2 separate regions of the Homo sapiens genome follow, and region 2 is linked to region 1. Evidence: promoter capture Hi-C in 16 types of primary human blood cells and fetal thymus (Javierre and others, 2016). All regions are on one chromosome and are shown on one strand. Each heading gives the region's core, a stretch centred on a gene start or on the middle of the fragment in contact. The rest is flanking DNA. Distances are from core to core; before and after follow the strand shown.

Region 1 (2,832 bases), core at 291-2,790:
TCACTTGGATGAATGGGGAGAATGAAAGGAGAACTGGCAGGCATCACGCATGTTCAGAGGGAAATTAGTTTCAAGCAGAGTTGGAAGATGAGGATCTGAAAATTAAAACCCTTGCAACATTCTATACCCTGTGAAGTCTTGTGGGCCTAAGGGTATGTGCACAGTTTGGAGACTGCTGGGCAACAGAATTGAAATTCCACTCTGAAAGTATCTAATATAATGCAAATATAAGGTGTTATTTTTAAACCAAAAGCCTCTCTGCATTTCTTTGAGGCATCCTAAGCCTTTGGAAATTTTTAAAACAGGTATCATGTTCTCTTCATCAGAATGGAGGGTCAACAAGAGATTATAATCTTGCTGGTGTAGCCAACCAACTGTATAGTCTTGGATAAACAGTTCAGGGAGTCCCAGGAATTGGTTCTACAATTTCTCTGAGTGCTTTAGAACTTCATTGCTTTTGTTTTAAGCCTCTTCCTAATAATCTTTTAGCGTGTGTCTTAGTCACCTTTACCCTGAAATTCCTAGGTCCATCCATGAGTTCATTATTGGGCCTTATGCCCATGTTCTGTTCTCCAGGGAGGTTGAAGAGGGCCTTTTAGTGCCAGAAATAGAAAAACTTTCAAAATGATATACTAATAATAACCTGCACCTGTCAAGATTATCATATTGTGCCAACAGAGGAGCTGCTTATGCAAACTACTGTAAATTTGTACATGGGAAGACAGAGAAGTGTGTACAGTCACCTTGGAAATGCACTTTGAACATCTCTGTCTCCTAATATGTACGGGGTAAAGGTTGAAAGTAAATTATTGACAATGGGGGAAAAAAACAGATGCAAAGAAGACAACTTTATTAGGTGCTTTCTCTCCCTTATGAGAAGGATTTGGTTCTTTCAGGTGAAGTTCCAAATCACTAGACAATACCCAGTTTCCTTCAGTTGCAACAAGTTCATCCCACGGTGGGTGCTCTGAAAAGCACCTTGAGGGCGAATGGGTCTCAGGCCATTCAGGATCAGGTCCGATGCTTTTGTTGAAGATTCTTCCCGTGTCACCTCTTAGAAGCAGTTCGGTGTCCCCCTCCAAAGAGCCCACCACCTGGCTGCGCCCCACCTCCATTTGTCCCCCAGTTGCCAGGTAAGGGTACCCAGCTACCAGGTAACGGTGAGTGGTTCAGAAGGTGCCGCTGCGGGGGCAGCCAGGCCTTCACACGCAATCACTGGGGAAGAGGCGAGGACACGGGTGGATGCTGGAGGCGCGCACGTGCGCAGGTGCTCGCGCATCCACACACACACACACACACACACACACACACGCACACACAGGCACGGGGTGCGGGGCGAGCAGGGGGAGGGGACGGCCTTACCAGATCAATGAACGTCAGGAATTTCCAGCTCCCTCCGTAGGTCTGGTGTGAGGGCATTTCGATGGCCTTGTAGTTACACAGGATAGAGCAGTAAGACAGCAGGATTGCCATCCGCAGCACCTGGCAGGGGACAAGCGCCATGTTCGCCAGAGGCCTGGACCGGCTGGGCGGCAAGGAGGGCGGGCGTGAGGGAGGCGCCGGGCGCGCGGGGGCGGGCGCCGTGGGAACCCGGGCGCGGGCGCGGGCGCGGGGCGGGGCGGGGCGGGGGCGGGGGCGGGGGCGGGGCGCGCGCCCCCGGGGACTGGCGCGGCCGCGAGCGCCCGGGTGACCTGTACTGGCCGGGCGCGGTTTGCGGACGCTCTCCACTGCCGGCCGCGGCCTGGCAGGCGGCGTGTCGTCATCTCTTTCGTCACCTTCGTCATTCTGCTCCTGCGTTCGCAGGGTCCCGGGACACCCGGCCAGGAGGCGCCCCCTAGGCATCCCAGGTGTGGATGCGACCTCTGAGTGCTACGAGGGCTCGGGAAGTGCGCGCTGATCTCCAGGGGGAAGCGGGCCCTGTGGCTAGTGGGCGCCGGGCCGGGCGAGGGGGCGGGGAACCTAGACTGAAGGAGTGGACCCCAGTGTCCACAAATGTTCCCGCCCCGGAATCGCGGTGACGCTTCCTGGGGTAGTTGCAGTTGGCCGAGAGCTGGTGCCCCGTGCGGAGGGATCCGGTGGGGGTGTGAACGTGGGGTGTAAACCCGAGCACAGGCAGCCGCGAGTGACTTTCAGTATTTTGGGGCAATAAGGTTTTCAGTGTTGACAAACGACTGTCAATCACTAGGAAACTCTCTCAATTCTGCTTTCAATGGGTAGGCTACGCAGCACTTTTCCATGACAGATTGAATAATGTCATATCAGTATATAACATCAGCTAGAATATGAACTTTGGACAAGAGGTTTATAGATAAAAAGCTATAAAGAAAGGATTTTCAAATAACTTTCTGCCACAAGATTGCATTCAGCTTTAAAAAATTCCAATTTTGGATGTAAAACCCCTGCGTGTAATTTAATACTAATCATCTGGTTGTTAAACTGGTTTTGCCCTTACTTTTTTCTTACACTACACTACCAGGGCTTAATGGAAGGAAAATAAATATAAACTGGAGTCCCTCCTGCCTTCCAGTAAATGTTGTCACACTGAAGTTGCATCAGTCTGTGGGCAACATTTTCATTTCAGCCAACCAGTTGCAGGTTCGGATTATGAAAAGGCAACATAGGTATTTCCTGTGGATCCATTTAAAACAGGTGTCCTCTTCAAATAGTCTCTGAGTCAGAGGATGTGGAGGGAGGGCTGGTGGGGAGAAGCATAGTGCTAGAGGTAAAGAGAAAGTAGCAAGCAAGCCATGGATGTTTTCCTGAATGTTTCCAATCAAGCTCTAAACTAAAATGAAGAGACCCACTAGATTTTTTTAATTGGCATTATAATTA
Region 2 (2,930 bases), core at 264-2,763, 590 kb after region 1:
GGTAATTTGTTATGGTGGCAATAGAAAATGAATTGAGTCTTTAATCAATAAGGGTTGTTTTAACATAATCACCATGCTATTATCACACATCACAAAATTAATAATGCCTTAATACCATCAAATATCATATCCAAAGCTCCTTGATATTATGGTTCTAATCACCTTGTATTGTCATTACCTGCTTTCACCACTAGACCATGACATTATTAAGGTGTGGGGTTGATTCTATTCCGCAGTGGATCCCCTGCAGTGCCCAGATCATTGCATATAGTAGATGCTTAAAAAACCAGGGTAAATTGAAATGAATCACATCAATGATAGCTTCAGCGTGAAGTTTCTGAAAATTCAACTTCACTGTTATGACTACATATGTTAAGTCAATATAACGACAAAGTCATGAAGCTTTTCCTTTATGTTTTCTTCTAGGAGTTTTAAAAATTCATGTCTTATGTTTTAAGCCTTTAATCTATTTTTAGTTAATTTTTATGTATGGTTTAAGATAAGGGTTTAATTTCAGTTGATTGCATGTGGATATCCAGTTTTCCAATTTCCATTTGTTGAAGAGACTATCCTTCTCCTGTTGTATGTTCTTGGAATGCTTGTGAAGATCAGCTGACCATGGTGTGTGGGTGTATTTCTGGGTTCTCTATTCTGTTTTGTTCATCTGTATGTCCGTCTTTATGTCAGTACCATAATGTTTTGATTACTCTAGATTTGTATTTTGAAATCAGGAAATGTGATGCCTCCAGTTTTGTCCTTTCTCAAGATTGATTTGGCTATTCATGGTCTTTTATGGCTCTACATGAATTTTAAAATTGTATTTTCTATTGCTATAAAAATGCCATTTAGATTTTGTTAGGGATTACACTGAGTTGGTAGATTGCTTTGGGTAGTATGGACATTTTAACAATAATAGTAGCTCTTCTAATGCAGGCTGTCTTTCCATTTGTTTGTGTCTTAGCTTCTTTCATTCATGTTCTATAGTTTTCAGTATACATCCATTTCATCTCCTCAGCTAAGTTTATTCCTAGATATTTATTCTTTTTGGTGATAATGAAAATGGATTGTTTTTGTAATTTCCTTTTCAGATGGTTCATTGTTAATGTACAGAAAAGCAACTGATTTTTTTTCTTCTACCATAAGCTATTTCTTACTGGAAGGATAATTTTTAATTTTTTTTTATTTTTAATTTTTATTTATATTTTTAGAAACAGGGTCTCACTCTGTTGCCAAGGCTTCAGTGCAGTGGCACAATCAAAGCTCACTGCAGCCTCAAACTCCTAAGCTCCATCAATCCTCTTGCCTCAGCCTCCTGAGTAGCTGGGACTATAGGCCTGTGTCACCATGCCTGGCTAATATTTTATGTTTATTTTGTAGAGAAAGGGTTTTGCTTTGTGGCCCAGGCTGGTCTTGAACTCCTGGCCTCAAGGGATCCTCCCGCTTCAGCCTCCCAAAGTGCTGGGATTACAGGCATGAGCCACTGCACGTGGTCAGATATTTGTATGTTGATTTTGTATACTGCAACTTATTGAATTCATTTATTAGACAGTTTTTTATGGAGTCCTCAAGGTTTTCTCTATATAAGATCATGTCATTTGCAAACCAGGGCACTTTTACTTCTTTGTTGCTGATGTTGATGCCTTTTTATTTTTTTCTTGCCTAATTGCTCTGGCTAAGACTTTAATCTTGACAATGATTTCATGGATATGACAACAAAACCACAGGCAACAAAAGCAAAAATTAACAAGTGGAACTACATTAAACTAAAAAGCTCCTACCCAGCAAAGGAAGCAATCAACAGAGTGAAAAGGCAACCTACAAAATGGGATAAAATATTTGTAAACCATTTATCTGATAAGGGTTTAATCTCCAAAATATATAAGAAACTTCTATAACTCAAGAGTGAAAAAACTAATAACCCAATTCAAACTGAGCTAAAAACTTGAATAGATATTTCGCCAAAAAAGACATAAATACAGCCAACAGTTATATGGAAAAAAAATGCTCACCATCTCTAATCATCAGGGAAATGCTAATCAAAACTACAATGAGGTATCAGCTCAGAACTGTGAAGATCGCTATTATAACAACCTAAAAACCAAAAGACAATAAGTGTTGGTAAGGATGTGGAGAAATTGAAACACACACTGTTGGTGGGAATATAAAACGGTGCAGTCACCATGGGAAACGTTATGGAGGTTCCTCAAAGAATTAAAAATAGAAGTGCCATTTGATCTAGCAATTCCACTCCTGGGTTTCTATCCAAAAGAATGGAAATCAGGATCTTGAGGAGATGTTTCCACTTCCATATTCATTGCAACATTATTCACAATAGCAAAAATGTGGAAACAATGTAAATATTCATTGGCAGATGAATGTATAAAGAAAATGCATGTTCATACAATGCAATACTATTCACCCTTTAAAAAAAGGAAATTCTGCAATATGAGAAAACATGGAGGAACCTTGAGGACATTATGCTAAGTGAAATAAGCCAGTCACAGAAAGACAAATAGTGCATGATTCTACTTATCTGAATTATCTAAAATAGTAAAATTCATAGAATCAAATGATGTTTTCTGGGAGATATGGGGAGAGGGAAATGGGCAGTTAGTAAAGCTTCAGTCAGCAAGATGCATAAGCTCTAAAGATCTGCTGTACAACACAGTACCTGTGGTCAACAATTATGTATTGTATACCTAAAAATTTGTTGAGGGTAGATCTCTTGTTAAGTATTCTTATTGCAATTAAATATATATATATATTTATATAAAACAAATATACACACATATAGTCACTATTTATTGGTTTGCCACTCTGTATTATTTTATCTAACATGTGGTCAAACTGAAATGTCAAACTGAAGTGTAGAGTAACTTAAACTTCACCCAACAGGTGATCAGCAGAGATAAGATTCAAACCCGGAAACA

The links. The method cuts DNA at HindIII sites, captures the fragments that hold promoters and counts their contacts. A CHiCAGO score of 5 or more calls a contact.
Region 2: a contact is called between a fragment that was not itself captured here and the fragment with the promoter of AIG1 in region 1, in 1 of 17 cell types (activated CD4 T cells). The highest score is 6.7, in activated CD4 T cells.

The regions. Positions count from the first base shown.
Region 1 is chr6:143,059,597-143,062,428 of GRCh38, reverse strand. AIG1 (androgen induced 1) reads right to left here and starts at 1,540. Exons shown (of 6, transcript NM_016108.4): 1 at 1,363-1,540. The coding sequence starts at 1,503. RefSeq lists enhancers at 1,001-1,050, 1,651-1,780, 1,606-2,544 and silencers at 1,241-1,310, 1,561-1,650. The HindIII fragment of the contact is 5,617 bases long and covers 1-2,832 here.
Region 2 is chr6:142,470,586-142,473,515 of GRCh38, reverse strand. No RefSeq gene overlaps it. Among named protein-coding and RNA genes, the nearest start is that of ADGRG6, 170 kb to the right of the region's middle. The HindIII fragment of the contact is 2,217 bases long and covers 405-2,621 here.